5 separate regions of the Homo sapiens genome follow, and regions 2, 3, 4 and 5 are each linked to region 1. Evidence: promoter capture Hi-C in 16 types of primary human blood cells and fetal thymus (Javierre and others, 2016). All regions are on one chromosome and are shown on one strand. Each heading gives the region's core, a stretch centred on a gene start or on the middle of the fragment in contact. The rest is flanking DNA. Distances are from core to core; before and after follow the strand shown.

Region 1 (2,553 bases), core at 21-2,520:
CTGTGGGAGGGCATAAACTCATATTAGGGAGGTGACACTGTCACCTACTTGCTGTGCATCTTTCAGCAAGATAATTAACTGATCTGACACATTATTGAGCATTTATTCTGTCCTGGAATCATATCAAGCAATTTACATGCATTCTCATTTAATCCTCACAACCAGTTTATGAGGCTGAAACTTTTTTTTTTTTAGACCAAAAGCATCTTGGATAAACAGGCCTGAGGCTTGCCCAGGCTGAAGTGCAATGGCGCGATCTCAGCTCACTGCAACCTCCGCCTCCCACGTTCACGCGATTCTCTAGCTTCAGCCTCCCGAGTAGGTGGAATTACAAGCGCCCGCCACCATGCACGGCTAATTTTTTTTTAATTTTTAGTAGAGACAGGGTTTCACCATATTGGCCAGGCTGATCTCAAACTCCTGAACTCAGGTGATTCGCCCACCTCGGCCTCCCAGTGTTGGGATTACAGGCGTGAGCCACCGCGTCCGGCCAGAAACCATTTTTATCTCCTATTTTCAAAAATAAATAAATAAATAAAAATTTTAAAAAAAGAAACTGAGGTTTAGAGTTTAGTTTGTCCAAGATCATACAGTAAAATAATGAGACAAGCCTAATTAAATTGCATGTGCCTCAGTCATTACGCAATCTGCGAGTTTGTTGGGCCTACTGAATCAGAATCCGAATTATTTTAACATGAACCGTAGGCTATTTGTACACTAAGCGTTAGGACTAGCCTCTACCCTGCTTCCAGAATGGGTTCCGCTCAAGCAGGAGGTGAGCCAAGAGCCTCGCTCAGAGTTCTAAAAACACAATGTTTCTCACCTCTGTATCTTTGCACATGCCATTCTCTAGCTGGATTTAATACTCCGGTGCAAGCGTCCAGGTTGGGAGCCCCCGCAGTTCTCTGAGGTACTTTTATCTACTGTAACTCTAGGGCAACAATCCTGGCTTCTCCACTAGTGCGTGAACGTCTCTAGCGTTAAGTTTTTTTCTCACCTAAGTATCCCCAATACTACACAGTGATGACCCAGCGCAAACGACCACTCTTTCAACGCAAGCATGAACTAGCTGATAAAACTTAAAAGTGGCTACAAACGCCTGCGCAGGAGCCCTTCCGGCCCGGGGTGAGACGCGGGTCTAAAGAAAAGGTGGGCGGGAGGTTTAAATAGCTGACTGCAGTCCCCGGACTGGCTGCGCCGCTCGCCGCATGCGCGCAGCTAGCGGGCACGGCTTCAGAGGGCTTTCTCCGCATGCGCGGGATCCCGGATGTGGATCAAGTTGGTGGGAAGCGTGCGGTGCCGCAGCAATGGCGGCGCTCACAATTGCCACGGGTACTGGCAATTGGTTTTCGGCTTTGGCGCTCGGGGTGACTCTTCTCAAATGCCTTCTCATCCCCACATAGTAAGGGACTCGCACGGCCAGGGGCTGGGCGGGGAGGCCCCGCGGTCGGTCAGGGCGGGAGAGAAAGGTGTGGATATCCCTGGGTATGAAGAGAAAACTTTAGGTCGTGTTTGTCGCTATCCTGCCTTTGCTAAGCTTTCTGTTTCGCCAGTTGTTACTTGACTTAGCCCCAGCTGGCTAGGTTCAGACCTGGCGCTGTCTGATTTGGAACAAATCACTTTAACGTTTCTGAACCTCAGGGTCCTCATCCTTAATAGGCAGTTAAGAACCTCTGCCTCCAACAGCCATTCAGCCAGTATTATCAGATGCCTGAGGTGCCAGGTACCGTTCTAACTCCCGGGAGATGCGGTGGTGAGCAAGACATTGCTGGTCCTTGCCCTCGAAGTTGGTGGGTGGAGCTAGACAAACAGGAACTTTTCAGATTGTGATAAAGGAAATAGAGGGTTACTAAGTGGCTGTGCGCTATTCCTTTAGAAGGTGATGTTTGAGTTGAAATTCAAAAAATGAAAAAGAATAAGTGATGTGGAAAGCAGTTCAGGCATAGGAAAGAGTAAGTTCAAAGGCCCTGTGGCAGGAAAGAAGTCAGAGCATTCTAGGAACAGAAAGTGCCCCTTGTGGCTGCAGAGCATTGAGGGAGAGGAGTGGCACAGCATGGGGTGCACTGGGGACAGATAACACAGGGTTTCGAAGACCACAGTTAGACTGCTGTGTAAAAAATGGATGTAGGGCCAAGACTGAAAGCGTGGAAACCAAGAAGCAACCATGAAATGGTGGTGTGTATACAGTAGGTACTCAGTATTTATTAATATTGGCTTCCGCCTTCCCTTCATCCTTCCTCTTTTTTCTTTTTCTCCCTCATCCCTTTTCTCCTTTCCCTCCCACTTCCTAGTTTAGGGTTTGTTTTATTGGTATCCTTTGATTCAGGCTCTTGGTGATCTCTTGTTGAATATGGGAGAGTCATATGTATAGAATGTAAGTCCATACTGATGCGTATATGTAATCATGTAAGTGGAATGTATATGTAGATTCAGTAAAATGATTAACTGTAGGTCTGTGCATAAGATTATTTCTTGCTTTAGTTGCCTCAGGCTAGAAATGTATCCTCAGAGTTGTTTTTTTTGTTTGTTATTTTTTTTTTTTTTGAGACAGTC
Region 2 (2,553 bases), core at 29-2,528, 240 kb before region 1:
GGAGGAGGAAGAGCCATTTCTTAAATCTAAAGACAGCTCTGTACTGGGAGTGAGGAGGTCTAAGTTCTTACTCTGCCTTAGCTGTTAAATAAGCTGTGTGCCCTTGGCTAGTTCACTACTTTTTTGAGACTCATCTCTCAAGACACAGATAAATACTGCTTGACCACAGGTTAGTTGGAGTCTGTGTTAAGTGCTTTATATGTATTAGCTCATTAAATCCTCAAATCAAACCTAAAGTTAGATTCCCATTTCAAAGATAAGAAAAGTGAGGAATTGAGAGATTAAAGAAGCTATTCAAGACCACCTTCTAGTAAATGAGATGGATGGGAGATGGGACATTTTCAGTGGAAGAAACAACTTAAAGGCACAGAAGTGAAAAGGAGCAGGTGATCTTCAAGGAATAATGTGTATAATTTGGTATTGTCAACCTTAAATAGTGAGATTCAGAAAATACGATTAAGTAGAGTCTATTTGAGTACAAAGCTTAAGTATGGCCACCTGGGAGACACTGACTCCAAATGAATGGGGTCAGAGTTTCAAAGTAGAGAAGATAAGGTTTCACTTACATAGGCAGAGACACAGAAATTTTAACAGGATTACAACATTTCCCATACAAGACCAGTGCATACGTTACAGTGATTTGACTGGTTACAGATTCCTACATTCCAAGGAAGATTACTCCATGAGGAGGGACAACGTTCTGAGATGGTCTTATCTCTGGCGCCATTTGGTCTTAATTACGGGGTGGGGGGTTTGGGGGTGGGGAATGGGGGCAGAAGTTGCAGCTGCATGACATGTGACTCAGGCTGCATAGCCACATTCCTCCCAAGGCTCCGAATAATTTAAAGTTCCAATAGCTTTCAGTTTGAATTATTTAATTTCACAGTGTGTAGTGGACTTGGAAGTGTGATAGGAGACAAGAGTGGAAAATGTAGATTTAGGCAATGTTATAGAGGCCTTTGAATGCTGTGTTTTATTTGCATTTTATTCTACAGCTATTAGGGAGTCTTTGTCATCCCAATTTTCAAATGAGGCCTTAGAAATGTTCTCATTCCTGTAATCCCAGCACTTTGGGAGGCCGAGGCAGGCGGATCACGCGGTCAAGAGATTGAGACCATCCTGGCCAACGTGGTGAAACCCCTGTCTCTACTAAAAATACAAAAATTAGCTGGGCATGGTGGCACGCACCTGTAGTCCCAGCTACTTGGGAGGCTGAGGCAGAATCACTTGAACCCGGGAGGCGGAGGTTGCAGTGAGCTGAGATCACACCACTGCATTTCAGCCTGGCGACAGAGCGAGACTTCGTCTCAAAAAAAAAAAAAGTTCTCATTCAATGTCATTCACAATTATTTTATATTCCACTAAGCAGGGGAATAAATACCTTATTGAAAGAGTGCTTGTAGACTTATGCGGACATGGATTTATAGTCCGGCACTCTCTTGCATACACAAAAAAGAAAAGTATAAATGAAACATTGGTAAAGAAATTTCTAAAACTACTTCATAATCAATTCTAGCTTTCAATCACTTTTTAATTCATTGTCCATATTTGCCTACATAATAACTGCCCTGCATGCCATCAAGAGTATTGATGGTGCAACATTTCTTAAAAATGATTCAACATTGTCTTCAAATTTTTCTTTCAGGTTACTGACACGTATTTTGCAAGTTTCAACTTTGGCACTTTCTTGGTCTTACTAGAAGATCTTAGCAAAAAGTCTCACAACTACTGAAATTCATGTTTCTCCTTAAAATGGCCCTTGATTTATTTGTTCAGGGTTGTATTTGTTCAGTCACAATGACAGACATGACAACCAAGTACACTCTTGTGCAGGCAATGACAGCTGTGTCCTGACTGCAGCTTAACTGTAAGACACTCTCAACAGTAGGAAACATTCTGATTTTGATGTTAAAATAGAACTGAATTTGAATTAATGAAATATAGTAGCTTGTTGAAAATCATAGGATGGTGAAGGTATCAGGACCCATTTGCTCACTGTTATCAGTCCAGCCAGTAGGAAATCTGTCTTGTCGGTCAACTGTGTGAGAAAACCCTTTCCTAAAAAGAAGCTTTACCTTATCTATTTCCCTGTTATTTTGAATTTACACTTACTAAGGAGGAAACCAAGGCAAGAAAGACAGCCAAGGACATTTTAATTGACTCAAGAGATACTTACTTTTAACCAAGTCTTTTATGTTCTGGAAAGTGCCTTGAGATCTTTTAATAATCTTGCCAAATCAGCATTTCAATTTGGTACTCAGGATGAGTGATTAGAAGTCATGACAAATCAGCTAGCTTCTCTGTGGAGAATAGCTGAAGCCTCTGGAGAACCACAGTCTTAAATTAGTCTGAAGAAGCGTGAGGTCACAACAGGAAGTAATGTGAACAGGAGGAGTTACTGATCAGATGGTTCAGAGAGCTGGATGATCTTAATAACTTGATTCCAATTTTCCTTGTATGTAACGAACACTTATTGATTGCTTCTCTTAAATTCATCTCCTTTCTCCTTCCTTGCAACACCTTAATTTGTGTTCAGACATCTGTGTGATTCTG
Region 3 (2,553 bases), core at 20-2,519, 210 kb before region 1:
TTTCATTTCTCCCAGGTATACCCAGCAGTTGAATGGCTCAGTCATATGGTAGATACGTGTTAAACTTTTTGAGAAACTTCCAAACTGTATTGTTTTACTTTCCTATCAACAGTGTATGTGATTTCCAGTTGCTTTACAATCTCAGAAGCACTTAGTGTGATCAGCCTTTTTAATTTTAGTCATTCTAATGGGTTTATAGGTCATGGTATTCATTGTGGTTTTCATTTGTTTCCCTGATGTCTAGTGATGTTGAGCACCATGTGCCAACTGGCATTTTGTATACTATCTTCTTTTGTCTAGTATCTGTTCAAATCTTTTGCCCATTTAAAAAATTGTGTCATTTATCTTCTTACTGAGTTGTACAAGTTCCTTTTATGATCTGGATACCAGTTCTTTGTAAGATAGAAATATATTAAACATTTCCTTCAATCTGTGAAAACATGTGAATACAACTGATCCTTGAACAAAATGGGCTTGAACTGCATGGGTCCATTTATACTTGGATTCTTTTCAGTAAAAGTGACACTGAGTGTGCTTGCCTCTCCTGCCTCCCCTTCCTCCCCTTCTACCTCTTCTGCTTCTGTCACTGCTGAGACAGCAAGTCTAACCTCTTCTTTTCCTCTTTCTCCTCAGCCTACTCAATGTCAAGATGAAGATAAAGACCTTTATGATGATCCACTTCCACTTAATCAATACTAAATACATTTTAATCTTCCTTATGATTTTTTTCTCTATCTTTACTGTAAAAATGCAATATATAATATATAACATACTAAGTATGTGTTATTCCACTGTTTATAGTAGTTAAGTTTCAGGGGAGTCAAAAGTTGTACATGGATTTTTGACTGCATGGGAGGGAGCCATCCCCTAACCCCCATGTTGTTCAAGGTTCAACTGTATGTTCTCCCAGTTTGTGTCATGCCCTTTCCTTCTCTTAATTGTATCATTTGAGGAACAAAAGCTTTGAATTTTGATGAAGCTTAGTTTTCAGTTTTTCTTTTATGATTTATGCTTTTTGTTTACTTAAAGGTCACAAAGATTTTTCTCCTATGTTTTCTTGTAGGAGATGTTTTAGCTTTTACATTTAGGTCTATAATCCAGTTCAAGTTAATGTTTGTATATGGTGTGAAGCAAGGGTTAACATGGGGATTATCTTTTAGGTAAGTGTCTATTATGTATCAGGAACTTTATTTCTCAAGAAATAAATGTTCTAAGATAATTATCCTTATTTTAATGATGAAGAAAAGAAGTCTCAGAAGTATTAACTTGTTCAAATCGTACAACCAAGGCTCAAGTCCATGATTGCCCAACTCCAAAGCCCATGTTCTTTCTACCTTATTATGTTGGCATTGTTTTCAATGTCAGTTTGGACCCATATAAAAACGCCCAGCTGTACCCTATGAGGAGGATATAAAAATGTGAGATGGTAGTTGACACTCGGAGGACATTCATATCTCCAAACCCAACCTTATGAAGTTGGCCACAGCAAGCATGTTGGAAACTAGAACCAGGGGTTTCATATCAAGCCATTTGCTTAGGTCTGTATCTCAAAAGCTTTAAATACAACTTTTTTTGGTGCCCTCTTGATAAGGAGTCTTATACTGAGCTCTTCTTCTCTTTTATAGCTGGTCCATCAGAAAGATTAAATTAAACGTTTGGCCACATGGACAGTTAATCCTTAGATCACCCAGTTGGATGGTTCATTCCTGCTATGTTTGGTTTGATTTTTTATTTTTGGAAAACAAATAGTGAGTCAGTCTGCTTTCCCTCCCTTTCTCTGCCTCACCACTCCTTCTGGATTCTCTTAGATGCTCTGGTCATACTAGGTAAACAGTATTTTTCTTAAAATTTTCCTTGAGCCATGACAGAATCATGAGAGAGCTCCCCTGGCTCTGATACTTAATGCCCCCCTCTAAAAAGAAAGGTCTATTTGAGGCTATTCACTTTTGTCATCTTGAAAGAGTCTCTGAGTCTTACCTAGCAGGAATATTTTGTTTCTTTTCCTAAAAAAAAAAAAAATTATATATATATATATATATATATATATATATATATATATATATATATGGAGGGGATGTAAACAGAACAGCCCATACCTCTCTGTTCTTGCTTCTCATTAATGTAGATTTGGTAAATTCTCCTTTCTCTTCTCTTCTCTTCTCTTCTCAGGCAGCATGATGTAGGTGGGAAGAATATGGAGCTTTAAAGTGAGAAGTACCTACATTTGAATCCCAGCTCCAGTATTTACATAGCTAGCAAATCACCCAGTCTCTATGAAGTTCGATTTCCTATTCTGTAAAATGGGAATAACAAGTACTTTATGGGTTTGTTACTCAGTTTCTGGCACATGTGTGTGCTTATATTATTTCCTCCTGTTCTTTTATTAGATCTCTTTCTGAAGAGTAAGGATGTGAGATGATACTCATAAAAAGTCTGAATAAGGGGGTGTTGGAAGCTTATAAAGGGTATGTTTTGAATATGGAGCCCTATTTAAGGTGCCTTAACAGATTTATTCCTTTCACTTTGGCTAATCCGGGCAGTTTGATTTCAAAG
Region 4 (2,553 bases), core at 16-2,515, 150 kb after region 1:
CATTACATATCTATTAAAAAGGGATACCTTTTTGTTGTTTTCTTTTTTTTTCTCACTGCTATGAGAAAGTAGAGGGACTTTTTATTTTTTAACATAGCCACCTAACCCTAATGAATAAAGTTAAGTAATTCTTTAATGTCATCTAAGAATTAGTTGATATTTAGATTTCTGTAGTTGTTCTCCCAGTACCTTTTTATAGTTGATGTATTCAAATCAAAATGCAAACCAGGTCCCCACATGGCATTCAGTCTTTTCAAAAATCTACAACAGTTACTATTTTGGTGACATTGATTTGATGAAGAAACTGAGACAGTTCTTTTGTAAAATGTCTTGTTTTCTGAATTCATTTACTTCTTTAAGGATTAACTTGTTCCTCTGTTCTCTGTATTTACTATGAACTGAAAGTTAGATCTATAGGCTTTGTTAGATTTAAGTTAAGCATATTTTTGACAATTTTAAGACTATGTTATAAATGGTGACTTGTACTTCATATTGCAGCTATCAGCATGCAAATGTCACCGTTACATTGAGGTCTTCCTTTACCCTTCTGTTTCATATCGAAACTGCCTATCCCCACCCCGCACTTCCTAGTCCCCTTCCTTGATTTTGTTTTCTCCATAGTAATTACCATCTTCTAATATTCTGTATAATTTCTTGTTAATTATGTTCCTTGTCCATTTCCCCATGCAGGAACATAAGCTTCCCTTGAGCAGGGATTTTTATGTTTTTTAATTGTTGTTTCTACAGAATCAAGAACAGTGCCTGGTAAAATAAATATTTGTTGAATGAATAAATGAATTAATTGATGCTTTTGTGATACATTTTACTCAACAAATATATATCAGACTTTGTTCTGGGCACTGGACGGTGTCCATTAGCACAATTGTTAAGTCTTATGCGTTGCAATTGTTTGCCATATGTGTCTATCTCCTTCAGACTTTGAGCTCCGTAAATTCAGAGGCTGCAGATCCATTAGTCTCTATCCCAGTGCCTGGCAGGTTCCTAGGAACATTGAAGGGACATTATAAATGTTTCACTTATGTTTTACGTGAATAAAATCAGGCTTTCTTTTTTTGTTGTTCTTTTCTTTAAAAAATTTTTTAAAAAATCGTATCTATCTATCTAGAGACTGGGTTATGAGACTGGCTAATTTTTATATTTTTGATAGAGATGAGGTTTCACCATGTTACCAAGGTTGGTCTCAAACTCCTGGGCTCAAGCGATTCACCTACCTCAGCCTCCCAAAGTGCTGGGATTACAGGCATGAACCACTGTGCCTGGCATCTTTTTGAGTGTTGCTCTGTTGCCCAATCTAGAGTGCAATGGCGTGATCACTGCCCACTGAAGTCTGGACTCCCAGGCTCAAGCCATCCTCCCACCTCAGCCTCCTGAGGAGCTGGGACCACAGGCACATGCCACCACTCCCGGCTAATTTTTTCTTTTTAATTTTTTTTGTAGAGATGGAGTCTCTCTGTGTTGCCCAGGCTGGTCGCGAATTCCTGAGCTCAAGCAACCCTCCTGCTTGGCCCTCCCAAAGGATTGGGATTACAGACGTGAGCTACCACATCTGACCAAAATCAGGATTTCTGTTCTCAAGAAGTTTTCGATCTCTCAGTGATCTATTTTCCGTTAGTCTTTTTCTTAGCAATATCTACCATTATTATTATATTAAAGATCTGTTACCAATAATCATCTATAATAATACTTCTTAGAGCAGTTAACATTATATTGCTTGTTAGAGTTTGAAAGCACTTTCCATATGTAATATTTTATTTAATCCTGGTGACAGCACCATTGTTATCTCTAAATTCCAGATATGGAACTAAGCTTAGAGCTGTTTAGTATCCAAGGTCACCCAGCTAGTAAATGGAAGGTATGGATTTGAACTTGGGTTTTTTTTTTAAAAAACCTTTTGTTATGGAACATTTCAGATATATACTATGTAAGTAAAGAGAATAGTTTAATTAATTCCCATGTACCCATTACCTGGCTTCAAAAATTATCATTTTGTGGCCAAACTTGTTTCATTTTCCCTCTTCCCCAATCCACTTCTACTTCTTTACCCTCACCTTCTCCACCAGATTCTTATGAAAATAAATTCCTGGCATCATATTATTTTAATCATAAATTTTGATTTATATCTTTAAGTGGTGAAGACTCTTTTTTTATTATTATACTTTAGGTTCTAGGGCACATGTGCACAACGTGCAGGTTTGTTACATGTGTATACATGTGCCATGTTGGCTTGCTGCACCCATTAACTCATCATTTACTTTAGGTATTTCTCCTAATGCTATCCCTCCCCCAGCCCCCCACTCCCCAACAGGCCCCGGTGTGTGATGTTTCCCGCCCTGTGTCCAAGTGTTCTCACTGTTCAATTCCCACCTATGAGTGAGAACATGCGGTGTTTGGTTTTCTGTCCTTGTGATAGTTTGCTGAGAAGGATGGTTTTCAGCTTCATCCATTTCCCTGCGAAGGACATGAACGCATCCTTTTTTATGGCTGCATAGTATTCCATGGTGTATATGTGCCACATTTTCTTAATCCAGTCTA
Region 5 (2,553 bases), core at 33-2,532, 150 kb before region 1:
TTCAGTCTCTCAAATCTAAGTATAGGCCAGGTTTGCTGGTTCACACTTGTAATCACAGCATTTTGGGAGGCCAAGGCAGGAAGATTACTTGAGCCCAGGAGTTTAAGAACAGCCTGGGAAAAATAGTGAGACCCCCATCTCTACAAAAATTTAGAAATTAGCCAGGCATAGTGGCATGCACCTGTGATCTCAGCCACTCAGGAGGCTGAGGTGGGAGATTCACTTGAGCCAGGAGGTTGAGGCTGCAGTGAGCCATGTTCATGCCTCTGCATTCCAACCTGAGTGACAGAGTGAGACCCTGCCTCAGCAAACAACCAAAAAAAACTAAGTATAACATTTGATAGTGGTCTTTTGTTGCTGCTCTTTTTCAAGTTGAAGAAGCTCCCCTCTGTTCCTGTTTTTCTGAGAGTTTTTATCAAGAATGAGTGTTTAATTTTATCAAATATTTTTTGCATTGAAAGATATGATCATGCAGTTTTTCTTCAGCCTATTAATATGGTAGATGACGGATTTCAAATATGGAATCAGCCTTACCTCCTTGGAATAAATTCCATTTGGTCATGTGTTTTTATAGATTGCTGAATTCTATTTGTATTTTATGTGTAAGTCCATAATCCATTTTGAGTTAATTTTTGTATGAGATTTTATATAGACGTTAGAACAGTCCTGAAAAAGCTTTCTCTTTAATAGCATATTCAGGACTCATGTCCCGTATTCTCCTTGCATTATGTGTCAGTAATCCAACAGCAATTTTTCATTTTTGTATCATGGGTTACTTTTCAGGTGAAGCTCCCAGACCCCCCTTATAAATATTTATTACATGGATACTGCACTTATCAGAATGAAGGGAACAAGGTGCCAAATAACTCACACCATAGAGAATCTATTACACATCTTTATCTTATTCTTTTTTCTGTAATCCTCTTGCTGTCCTTCTTTTCTACTTCCTACTGTGAAAGCTTACGTATAAGTTTTATTAATTTGAACAAATTAACATATTCATGGAATGAAAAAAAATCAACAGATCTTCCCTGAGCTCCTATATGTGTTAAGCACTCTGCCATGTAGTTTTTGGCCACATTGGACCTTAATCTCAGGATGCTCAGAACTTAAAGGGGAGAAAGACATATAAGCATTAGAAATGCCAAAGCAGGGAGTAGAAATGTCAAACCCGGGGAAAGAAATGCCAGCGTGGGGTAAGCACAGGTTAGTAAGGGAAAACAAGCAGAAGCACCTCCAGCTCTACCTGGGGGAGTCAATAAAGGCCTTCCAGGAGAAGTGACATTTGTGCTGGCACTGAGAGAACATAGAAATTCTCCAGATGGATGAGGTAAGGTGAAAGCCTTTCTAGGCAGAAGCCATAGCTTGTGCAAAGACATAAAGTCATGAAATTACATGACTTACTATTTGGAGAATAATAGGTAATTTTTAGTGCTCCTGTAAATTCTGTGAGACGAGGAATTCATGCTGTATCCTCAGCATTAGAATAATACCTAGAGCATAGTAAGCACTGAATAAATATTTGTTGGATGTAAGGAAACAAAGGAGGGAAAGAGCGATGGAGGAAGGAAACATAATTGAGGTGAGAGCGGTAAGAAAGCTTTGGCAATAAAGAATTTTGTTCATGTCCTAGTTGGGAAGAGACAAGTACAAAAACACTCATGATTGTTGTAAAAACTGACATGCCTTGAAAAGAACATAAAAAGCATTATGAAGGTTCCGAGGAAATAGAGGTCCACTTCAGATGAATGGATCAGGGAAGTTGTCACTGAGGCCAGACACTTAGAGTTGTTTGTACTTGGTTCTGAATTGTTTGGCTTTTTAAAAACACATGGGGCCCCATGCCGTGGCTCACGCCTGTAATCCCAGCACTTTGGGAGGCTGAGGTGGGTGGATCAATTAAGGTTAGGAGTTCAATACCAGCCTGACCAACATGGTGAAACCCCGTCTCTACTAAAAATACAAAATTAGCTGGGCATAGTGGCACACGCCTGTAATCCCATTTACTGAAGAGAGGCGGAGGCGGGAGAATCGCCTGAACCTGGGAGGTGGAAGTTGCAGTGAACGAGATGATGCCACTGCACACCAGCCTGGGTACTCTAAAAATATATATAAATAAATAAAACCTGGAAGTGGAGAGAAGGTGTTGTGGTGGAAGAGGGATGTGTGAATTTGGGACTAGACTAGACAGCCTTGCTGACTCTGTCATAAATATATCAGTATTTTGTAGGCAGCCATTTATCAGCCTACACCACTTACTTGGAAGCAAAACCTGACAGGCTCTGATATTATCTGTAGCAAACATGGTTTTCTTGTTCATGAGGGTGTCTGTGTTTTTTGTGCTTGCACCTGCATACCAGAGATTTGGGGACAGCTCTTTCCACAGAGACAAGACTAACGGGGACACATCAACTGAAATGCCAGCTGAACTAGAAACAGATCTTTTTAAAATGCACCTTGGTGCCCACACACTATGTGTCTATGTGTGAACCTGCAGCACACAGAAGTACATGCATAATTCTGAAAGCAGTGACCGGGTTAAGATTTTAAATT

What was found. Contacts are between HindIII fragments. The CHiCAGO score rates a contact against its expected background, and 5 or more counts as called.
Region 2: a fragment that was not itself captured here is called in contact with the fragment with the promoter of ALG8 in region 1 in 3 of 17 cell types (activated CD4 T cells, monocytes and naive CD4 T cells); the score reaches 6.4 in activated CD4 T cells.
Region 3: a contact is called between a fragment that was not itself captured here and the fragment with the promoter of ALG8 in region 1, in 4 of 17 cell types (activated CD4 T cells, naive CD4 T cells, non-activated CD4 T cells and 1 more). The highest score is 6.1, in activated CD4 T cells.
Region 4: a fragment that was not itself captured here is called in contact with the fragment with the promoter of ALG8 in region 1 in 1 of 17 cell types (naive CD4 T cells); the score reaches 6.0 in naive CD4 T cells.
Region 5: a contact is called between a fragment that was not itself captured here and the fragment with the promoter of ALG8 in region 1, in 1 of 17 cell types (activated CD4 T cells). The highest score is 5.2, in activated CD4 T cells.

The regions. Positions count from the first base shown.
Region 1 is chr11:78,138,343-78,140,895 of GRCh38, reverse strand. It overlaps ALG8 (ALG8 alpha-1,3-glucosyltransferase), which reads left to right and starts at 1,270. Exons shown (of 13, transcript NM_024079.5): 1 at 1,270-1,402. The coding sequence starts at 1,308. It overlaps KCTD21-AS1 (KCTD21 antisense RNA 1), which reads right to left and starts at 1,103. Exons shown (of 3, transcript NR_102281.1): 1 at 824-1,103. RefSeq lists enhancers at 1-537, 698-807, 1,418-1,497, 1,578-1,687. The HindIII fragment of the contact is 5,506 bases long and covers 1-1,539 here.
Region 2 is chr11:78,378,983-78,381,535 of GRCh38, reverse strand. All of the region lies in intron 1 of GAB2 (GRB2 associated binding protein 2), which reads left to right. Among named protein-coding and RNA genes, the nearest start is that of GAB2, 38 kb to the left of the region's middle. The HindIII fragment of the contact is 1,586 bases long and covers 486-2,071 here.
Region 3 is chr11:78,346,189-78,348,741 of GRCh38, reverse strand. The region is part of intron 1 of GAB2 (GRB2 associated binding protein 2); the gene reads left to right. Among named protein-coding and RNA genes, the nearest start is that of GAB2, 70 kb to the left of the region's middle. The HindIII fragment of the contact is 575 bases long and covers 982-1,556 here.
Region 4 is chr11:77,986,604-77,989,156 of GRCh38, reverse strand. All of the region lies in intron 2 of INTS4 (integrator complex subunit 4), which reads left to right. Among named protein-coding and RNA genes, the nearest start is that of INTS4, 6.8 kb to the left of the region's middle. The HindIII fragment of the contact is 1,128 bases long and covers 702-1,829 here.
Region 5 is chr11:78,285,049-78,287,601 of GRCh38, reverse strand. The region is part of intron 1 of GAB2 (GRB2 associated binding protein 2); the gene reads left to right. Among named protein-coding and RNA genes, the nearest start is that of USP35, 97 kb to the right of the region's middle. The HindIII fragment of the contact is 641 bases long and covers 962-1,602 here.